2 separate regions of the Homo sapiens genome follow, and region 1 is linked to region 2. Evidence: promoter capture Hi-C in human tissues and cell types (Jung and others, 2019). All regions are on one chromosome and are shown on one strand. Each heading gives the region's core, a stretch centred on a gene start or on the middle of the fragment in contact. The rest is flanking DNA. Distances are from core to core; before and after follow the strand shown.

Region 1 (4,593 bases), core at 1,655-4,154, 310 kb after region 2:
GACTCAGTCACACAATAACAGTGGGGATCTTCAACATCTCATTGATAGTGTTAAGGCAAATCATTGAGACAAAAAACTAACAAAGAAATTCTGGGCTTAAATTTAACACTTGACTAATTGGACCTAACAGACATCTACAGAATACTCCACCAAACAACTACAGAATACACCTTTTTCTCATCTGCACAAAGAACATACTCCAAGATCAACAACATGTTTGCCCATAAAGCAAGTCATGATACATTTTTAAAAAATGAAATCACACAACACCATTCTCTTGGACCACAGTGCAATAAAAATAGAAATGAATACCAAGAAGATCTCTGAAAACCACACAATTACATGGAAATCAAACAACTGGCTCCTAAATGACTTTGGGAAAAGAAAGAATTTAAGGCAGAAATCAAACAATGATTTGTAATAAGCAAAAAGAAACATCATACCAAAACTTCTGGGATACAGCAAAAGCAGCATAAGAGGAAAGCTTATAGTGCAAAACAAATATGTTGAAAAGTTAGACAGATCTGTAATTAACAATCTGACACTGTGCCGAGAGGAACTAAAAAACAAGGACAAAATAACCCCAAAGCTGGCAACAGAAAAGAAATAACTAAAATTAGAGCATAACTGAGAAAACTTGAGGCCCAAAAATCCATACAAAGGATCAGTGAAACCAAAAGTTGGCTTTTTGAAGGGATAAAAATACTGATAGGCTACTAGCTAGATAAATAAATAAATAAATAAATAACAGAGAACATCTAAATAAGCACAATCAGAAACAACAAAGATGACATTACAACCAATCCCATAGTAATACAAAAGATCCTCAGAGACTACAATGAACACCACTGTATACACACAAACTAGAATATCTAGGAGAAATGGATAAATCCTTGGAAACCAACAAAGATTGAACCACGAGGAAACTAAAATCATGAACAGACAAATAACAAGCTCTGAAATTGAATCAGTAATAAAAAACCTACTAGCCAAAAACAGATTCAGATCAGACTGACTCATAGTCAATTTCTACCAGACATACAAAGAAGAGCTGTTAACAAACCTAATGAAACTATTCCAAAATATTGAGGAGATACTTCTCCCTAACTCATTGTATGATGCCAGCATCATCTTGATACTAAAAGCCAGCAAAGACACAATGAATAAAGAAAACTACAGCCCAATATTCCCAATGAATGTAGACACCAAAGTCCTCAATAAAATATCAGCAAACAAAATCCAGCAACACATCAAAAACTTACTTCACCACAATCAAGTCAGCTTTATTTTTGTGATGCAATTGGTTCAAAGTACACAAATCAATAAATGTGTTTCACCACATAAACAAAATGAAAACGAAAAACCATATGATCAACTCAAAAGATGCAAAAAAGCTTTCAATAACGTCCATCATCCCTTCATGAAAAAAACACCCAACAAATTAGGCATCAAAGAAACAGACCTCAAAATAATAAAGGCCACTCTATGACAAACCCACAGCTGAAACCATACAGAATGGGCAAAAGCTGGAAGTGGGGGCTAAGTGCAGTGGCTCATGCTTGTAACCCCAGCATGCTGGGAGGCAAAGACAGGAGAATCACTTGAGGCCAGGAGTCTGAGACCAGGCTGGGCAACACAGTGAGACCTTGTCTCTGTAAAGTAGTAAAGAAAAAAATTAAAGAAAAAAGAACAAAAACAGTTGGAAGCATTCCCCTTGCCAACTGGAACAAGACAAAGATGCCCACTCTCACCGTATGTATTCAACATAGTACTGGAACTCCTAGCCAGAGCAATCAGGAAAAAGAAAGAAAGAAAAGCCATCCAAAAAGGAAAAGAAGCCAAACTATCTCTCTTTGCTGATGATATGATTCTGTACCTAAAAAACTCTAAAGAGTTTGCCAATTTATCCTGGAACTGATAAATGACTTCAGTCAGGACACAAAAATCAATGTAAAAATATCCATAGCATTTCTATATACCAATAAAGTTCAAGCTGAGAGACAAATCAAGAATGTAATCCAATTTATAATAGCCACACACAAAAAAGCAAAATACTTAGGAATGCATCTAACTACAGAGATGAAAGGTGGTTACAAGGAGAACTACAAAACACTGCTGAAAAAAAATCATGACACCAAATAGATGACACCAAAAAAATGGCAAAACATTCCATGCTCATGAATTGGAAAAATCAATCGCATTAAAATGGCCATACTCCAGAGTTTGCCACATATGGGTGGTCCGTCTGTTCCTGTCCCCTGTGAGATCCAGCACTGAGGCACAAAGGACAGGAGAGGGTGGGGAGGGGTGGCAGCGTGAGTCTCACTGGGTGTGAGCTGGCCAGCCCCCTGGCTCAGTGCTCCCTCCTCCACCTCCTTTGAACGGGGGACATACCATGTGGCTAAGAAGGGCAACTCAGCATCTGCCGCTCAGGCTAGGTGGACAGTGAGGAAGGGGACATGGGAGGTCTGAGGCTTCAAGGCTAGTGTCTCCACAGGCGCTGGCAGTGATTTCTTTTTTAAGCTGCTCTCCCTCCCTTCCCTCCGCCTGCCTCCATCCTAATTGAAGCCATCGCCTCTTCAGTTACACTGCTTCCTAAAATAGTGTTCTGATCACGCCCTGGGTGCTCACTGAAAATGCTTCAGGGGCTCCCTGCCATCTATTGGAAAAAGGCAGAAATCCTTAGGCTGGCGTGCCAGGGTCCAATCAGAAAAGCGAAACCCACCTGGGATGTTTCCGCAGAGGGAACTTCGTGTAGGGCATTGTTATGGGCGTGGGAAGACTGAAAGGGCAAAGAGAGACCGCTGGGACAGAGAGTGGCAGAAGCAGCTTCCACCCCTGCAGCCAGAGGGACAGAAGGAAGGCAGGTTTGGAGGAGGGCCCGGGTCTCTGATGGGGAAGAAGGGCCGCTGCTGGTAAGTGGTGGGAGAAACAGCCTTGGGGATGGCAGGTAAACCTGTCTCCTGCCTCCCACCTTCCCTTCTCCATCTAGTGTCCCCTTGTGGGGAAATTTAACAGGGAACCCAGAGACGAAAGAGATGGGGTTTGCAGAATCCCTGCACCAGAGAGCAAAGTGGTTTGAAGCTGAGCGACATTTGCTTCCTAATGGGCACAGGTGGCACTCTAGGTTTCCGTGTCTGGCCCCAAACTCCTGGCTACACTCTGACCAGCCAGCATGTCACCTCCTGCCAAGCTCAGTTGTTCTGGAGGTCCCTGTCGTCAGATCTTTGCCCTTCATCACCCGTCAAATTCAGGACTTCGTTGAAATGCTACTTCCCTGATACCTTCTCGTACTTCCATTCTTAAACCTTTGTTGCTGTTAAGTGTTGAGATGAAACATGTTTGCTTTGTATTCTAGAAGTTTCTGTGATTGACCATACCTGAGCGCAGAGATTAACTGGGGTTTGTTCCAGAAACAGCATTAATCACAGTGCCCGGCACATAGAAGGGTCCAGAACTTGGAGCAAGTAACTGAACTCAGGCAGTTCCCACGCAGGCCACAGAGTTGGACAAAAACAGCTTGACCCTGGGGCTTGCACTCAAAATGAGCCTTACCCCTTTAAGAGAGGGCAGGTCTTTTCCCTCTCCGGCTCACCCCACCCCTCCTACACAGTAACTGAAACCTGATCTAATCCCTTTGCACGCGGGTAATTTATTGGTCTGTTGAGCTTTTCTTGGTGGCAAATTGCATTGTCTTTATTCCTGGGTTCAGGCTCTGCAGCGGCTCACTGCATTCCTAGGACTCCTTTCTAAGGGTCGATCCTTCACACCTCCTCGTGCACTGCAAAGTAAGTCTTATTGGGCTTCTTTGTTATGCAAACAGGGCGGTAATAATCAGGCTATTATTCTGAAAGATTGGGCTTGATTAACAGTTCAAAGGAGGTCTCTGAAAGCAGCTAGTGCCTCATTGGTGCATAAATATTTTCATCCTGCCAGCGTTGGTGCAGCTGGTGCTCCAAGCGCCCTCCCCTATCTTTCTGATTCTCAGAGGTGCTAGGTTGCTATTAAAAGGAAAAGAACTAAGTCAAAAAAAAAAAAAAAAAAAAAAAAAGGCCATACTGCCCAAAGCAATCTACAGATTCAATACCATTCCTATCAAACTACTAACGTCATTTTTCACAGCATTAGAAAAAACTATTCTAAAATTTCATATGGAACCAGAAAAGAGCCCAAACACCCAGAGCCATCCTAAGCAAAGAGAACCAAGCCTGATGCATCACATTACCCAACTTCAAACTATACTACAGTAAACAAATGCTACACTAAACAAATCAGCACGGTACTGGCACAAAAACAGACACATAGACCAATGGAACAGAACAGAGAGCCCAGAAATAAAGCCACATGCCTACAACCACTGGGTCTTTGACAAAGCCGACACAAATATGCAATGGGGAAAGGACTCCCTATTCAATAAATGGTGCTGGGATGACTGGTTATCCATACACAGAAGAATGAAACTTGACCCCTAGCTATAACAACATACAAAAATTAATGAAAGCTGAATTACATTCTTAAAAGTAAGACCTCTAACTATAAAAATCCTACAAGAAAACCTAAGAAATGCACTATTAGAAATCAGCCTCTGAAAGT
Region 2 (5,058 bases), core at 498-2,997:
GCCTTGACATTCTCAGGGAAGTAGCCGCCCTGGGGGAAGGATGTCAAGGTGAAGCACAGAGCCCCTGCTCACCACCTTCTATGGCTCCTCCAGCCCATGGGAGCCTTTGGGGAGCCACAGAACCAACTCTCACCATCTGTGAGAACACAGACAAGTCATTTCATCATTGTGCCTCAATTTCTTCACCCATAGAATGGGAATTTTAAGCCCCCCCGTGACAAAAGTGTTGGCCTAAGATTTGTCTCTCCTACTGGATTCTGGGCCCCAGGAGGGCCAGGACAAAACTGGCTTGTTTCAGGTGAAAGCCCAGCATCCGGCTCTGTGGTTAGCTCGGCTCAAATTCCTTCACCTAGCATTCCACACTCTGACTGGCTGCCTGGGGTGGGGGATCCCCCTTCCAAGCCTTTGCAAAGGCGCCACCTGTGCCCTCATCCTGCCATCAGCACACTGGCAACTCACGGCCAGGGTCAAACCCTTGCTTGCGGAGACCGTGGCTCCCCACCCTGCAGGGCAGGCCAGCATCACTGCACTCCCCTGGTGTGTGAACGCCCACCTCGGCACCTCCAGCCCTTGTGGCACCAAGTCTGGGGCAGTAGGTGCCTTCAGTGCCTGCGGCTGATATTCCTTTCCCCCTAGCGCCACATTCCCAGCTGGTGACTCGGACTCTCCCAGTTCAGCAAAGAGGAACGGGGACCCCAGGTTAGGGTGGTGGGGATGGGGTCAGGGAAAAGTGGTGTAGCCACTTGTACTTGGGGTCAAAGGTGTGTACACAGGCAGGTAAACGCAGGAAAAACCTGCCTCCTCGGCCCCAGCCCCAGACCAACAACCCAGGCCGACCCTGCCAGTCACCCACCCTGAAGGTGAGGCTGACCCTCCAGCCAGCTCTCCCTCCCTCTCTTTCTCTGCTTCCCCTTTGGTCAGGCAATGCCTGTCTCATTCTTGAGTCCTGGAACCACCCCGCCGCCCCACCCACTGGCTGCGGAGGGCTGGGCTCCGGTCCCTTTTCTCTCAGTCCAGCAGCTGCTCAGACAACTGCCACCCAGCACCTGGCACACCGGCCTGACACACTCTCCACACCAACAAATCTCACTATACTCCTTGCGTCCAAGGAGGAGACTTTTAAGCCCCTTCACCGGCTGAGAAAGCCTAGGCTCTGAGAGGGGAAGTGATCTGAGAGGCCCAGGATCACACAGTATGGCGGGTGGCGGTGGCGGGGAGAGGGCAGTGATGAGTCGGCTCCACACCCGCCCCTGGGCAGCCGGGCAGCCATCCCTGAGTCAGGGCCTGGCTTGGGCGTGTGACCTCAGAGGGGCGGGGAGGCTCGCCCGATCCCCAGGCCACCATCCAGCCTAGACCGAGAACACGGACGCGGGGTGGGGGCTCCCGGCCGGGCCCCCGGCGGGACTCCGAGCCCAAGCGTCCGTCCCCGGCCTGCCCAGCCTCGGTCTCCCCGTACAGGCACTGGGCGGAGGCCTCGGAGGTCCATTCCTGGCCAGGGGAGAGCCCCACCCCGCCCCGGCCGCAGTCCCTGGGACACGCAGGGCCTGGAGCCGAGCGGGACAGGAAGCGGAGGCCAAGCGGGCCGGGCGGAAGAGAAGGCCTGCAGGGAGGCCCGGCACGCGCCCGGCCCGGCTCACCTTGAAGTCGTTGCCGCTGAGGTCCACGCCACGCACGAACGGCAGCACCCCGGTGGCCTCCATGGCGCCGCTCTCGCTGCCGGGCCGCGCCGGGCTAGGGAGCGCCGGGGCGAGGGCGCTGGGGGGAGCCGCGGGCTGGGCCAGCGCCGGCCCCGCCCCTTTAACCCGCCCGCGCCCGCCGCATTCCGCGGGGAAGTGTAGGCTTTAGGCCTCTTAGGGCCTCAGTTTCCCCGTCTGTTCGAAGACTGCGGAGGCACCAAGGAGTGCGGGCCCCCCCTGTGCTGGAGTTGGAGGCTTCCACGATCTCCAGGCTTAAGTCCCAGCGCCCCAGGGCAGGGGCCGTAACGGCCGCTGGTCGAGGCACCGTCACCTGCGCTGCTGCAGCACATGAAGCTGGCCCTGACCTCAGAGAGATTCTAAACCTCGGCCCCGGGGCGCAGAGGCCCAGGAAGTGCCTGTACTTGGCTGACCGGTGGTAGTGAGACACCTGGATCCTCGGGTCCTAGCTCTCCTGCTTCTGGACTTAGTTTCCTCATGTGTTGTTTTTGTTTTGTTGAGACAGGGTCTTCTTGCTCTGCTGCCCAGGCTGGAGTGCAGTGGTGTGATCATAGCTCACTGCAGCCTCGAACTCCTGGGCTCAGCCTCCCGACTACCTGGGATTATAGGCGCAGGCCACCACACCTGGCTAAATTTATTTATTTTATTTATTTTTTATTTTTTTTGAGACAGAGTCTCGCTCTGTCGCCCAGGCTGGAGTGCAGTGGCGCAGTCTCGGCTCACTGCAACCTCCGCCTCCCGGGTTCACGCCATTCTCCTGCCTCAGCCTCCCGGGTAGCTGGGACTACAGGCACCCGCCACTACGCCCGGCTAATTTTTTTTTTTTTTTTTTTTGTATTTTTAGTAGAGACGGGGTTTCACCGTGTTAGCCAGGATGGTCTCGATCTTCTGACCTCGTGATCCAACCGCCTCGGCCTCCCAAAGTGCTGGGATTACAGGCGTGAGCCACCGCGCCCGGCCTTATTTATACTTTTTGTAGACACGGGGTGCTTGCTATGTTGCCCAGGCTGGTCTTGATCTCCTGGCCTCAAGTGATCCTCTGGTATCAGCTTCTCAGAGTGTTGGGATGACAGGCGTGAGCCACCGCGCCCTACCCAGTTTCCTCATTTGTAAAATACTTTCTAAGGTTGTCACCATGAGCAAATTAACAAAGAATGCACGTGTAGCTCGCAGCATACAGCAGGCGCTCAGTGAGTGGCAGGTTATTATTCCGTTTTGTTTTGTTTTGTGCGCCAGGTTATTATTCCCACTTAGTGTCAGCACCCCTGTGCTCGTACCCCCCTACAAAGGGAGGCTCCAGAAGAGAAGCATCCGTCTTGGTCCTTGCTGTTCAAGGGGGCTCGCCCTGGCTGACACATAGCAGGACCCCAATAAATGAGCCACAGCTGTTATATGCCCAACCATCCTTCGCAGGGGAGGAGGGGGTCTAGTGTCCCCATTTTACAGGAGAAAAACTGATGCCCAGGTGGAGAATGGCCCACACAAGCTCGCACAGAGCAGGTGGCAGGGGTAGGCGCTGTGCCCCTCAGGCCCACAGGTAAGAATGAGGCCACCAAGACACTCTCTCGCAGAGGTGACCTAAGAGGTTGGATGTGCCGGGCCTCTAGCCATGTGCAGCCTCTCTACCTGGTCCCCAGAAGGAACGGGGCCCAGACAGCTTCCTCCACACCGGAGGCTCACATTACAACGCACAGACGTCCTGGAGGGTCGCCTGTCACGTCACCTGTTCGCGGTCTCGGAATGCAGCCCTGCACCTTTAAATCCAGACTGCGTCAGGGAGTCCCGCCCCAGAGGGAGTGCGGCTGTCGGCTGGGGGGCGGGACCTGCCCTTCATTGGCTGAACCGCGCAGTATTTTGGCACCTGTGCGCTGGACTCGAGCGCTCCGATTGGAGTTAGGGCCTGCTTGTCTGCGTGCTGCGAAGTCCGCGGCTGCCCCCGGGGCCCTAGTCGTTGGGTTCCAGGGTCCTTCACGTTCCATTCCCAGGCTGGTCTGAGCTCCGGGGCCGTGGTCCCGCTGCCTCCTCCGGTCGTCGTGCGGAAGCTGCGACGCAGGTACAGCTGGAGCGCGGCGGGGCGGCCCCCAGGGTCACCGGGCTCGGGGCTTGGCGCGCGACGGAACGCAGATCGGGGGCGTGGCCCGCGATCACCGCTGGGGAAGGCGGGGAGGGGACCTTTGGGGGACCAAGGGCAGCGTTCGAATCCTAGCCCAGCCCCCTTCCCCTCTCGGTCTCTTGGTTTATCCTGCGAACGGGGCGTCACCCGCCCACCTAGGGCTGCTGCGCGGCCTGCTCCGCCCGGGCCCAGGGCAGGCAGGTTTGGCGGAGGAGGGAAGGCCAAACGGCCTCCAGGGCCCCGCTGCGCAAACTTGGGTTATTTTCAGCCACCCGTGCCCTTTCCTGCTTCTCGGAGCTGGAAGGCTGTGGACTGAGGCCTGCGCGACCCCGCCAGAGATGGGGCTGAGTCCCAATTTAGACAGGTTGGGAGTATTTAAAGCGCTTTACAGTTTGCAAAGTAGATTCCTGGTCTCTCTGGGGGCGGGTGGCAGTATTGATCCCCGAGTCACCGATGAGGAGATTGAAACCGGCCCTGGGGCCGTGGCGGGTCACCCGGTTGGCCTGGGATCGCCCCAGAGACCGTCTTATTTTTAGTCTGGGGCGAATGGGCGGGTGTACGGGGCTGAGTCACACAGCGCTTCAGGCTTCAGCTACTCCAGGCATCTGGTCACCTGGCAACTGGGCCCCTGGCACCCACACTCTGGCAGGGCAGGTAGAAGTCCTTGGTGCCCGGGCAGGCTGTGACCTCATGGTCATCTGCTCAGGCCTCCCCGGGAGAGTTCTGCTTGGTGTCTAACTGATGTCCTAAGGTCCCAGCCCTTCTCAGCTCCCAGGGCCTGAGGGCAGTGTCCCCCTCGCAGAACGTGAGGAATGTGGACTGGGCCCTAGGAGATCTTTGCCTCCACTTCCCAAGTGCTGGCCCCCACCCAGCCACACACTTCAAGGCTGCCCACATCTGCCCCTCACTGCTGCCTATGCCATCTTACAGGTGAGCAAACAGGCTGGGGCCCAGGCCTTCACCTTACTTTCTGTGTTGCTTGGCCTTCCGGCAGTTGAGAAGCATCACCCACCACTACCTACACATTGTCCCAAGACTGAGAGGCCCAGAGAGCCCCCTGTACAGAGGCACTGGGCAGCCCTTTCTGCCCTGCCAAAGGGGCTTCAACCCTGACAAGCACATCTGCATTGGCCTGCCTGGGCAGCTTGGGCCGTCTTACTCTGCCCGTGCTCTGACTTGGTAGCTCTGCCTCTTGGGCTACCCTGTCAAGATTTGGGGGTAACTGGTCCCAGTGGTCCCCCAGACTGGCTG

The links. Contacts are between HindIII fragments. The study calls those that stand out against the background at their distance.
Region 1: a fragment that was not itself captured here is called in contact with the fragment with the promoter of FLII in region 2 in 1 of the 25 tissues and cell types used here (spleen).

The regions. Positions count from the first base shown.
Region 1 is chr17:18,565,965-18,570,557 of GRCh38, forward strand. It overlaps the pseudogene CCDC144BP. Among named protein-coding and RNA genes, the nearest start is that of FAM106A, 41 kb to the left of the region's middle. RefSeq lists an enhancer at 3,322-4,055. The HindIII fragment of the contact is 3,931 bases long and covers 940-4,593 here.
Region 2 is chr17:18,256,991-18,262,048 of GRCh38, forward strand. It overlaps FLII (FLII actin remodeling protein), which reads right to left and starts at 1,748. Exons shown (of 30, transcript NM_002018.4): 1 at 1,638-1,748; 2 at 1-29. The coding sequence starts at 1,700. It overlaps MIEF2 (mitochondrial elongation factor 2), which reads left to right and starts at 3,672. Exons shown (of 4, transcript NM_139162.4): 1 at 3,672-3,747. RefSeq lists enhancers at 1-380, 1,040-1,119, 1,119-1,620, 3,230-3,359, 3,981-4,601 and 1 more and silencers at 1,290-1,429, 1,440-1,839. The HindIII fragment of the contact is 13,885 bases long and covers 1-5,058 here.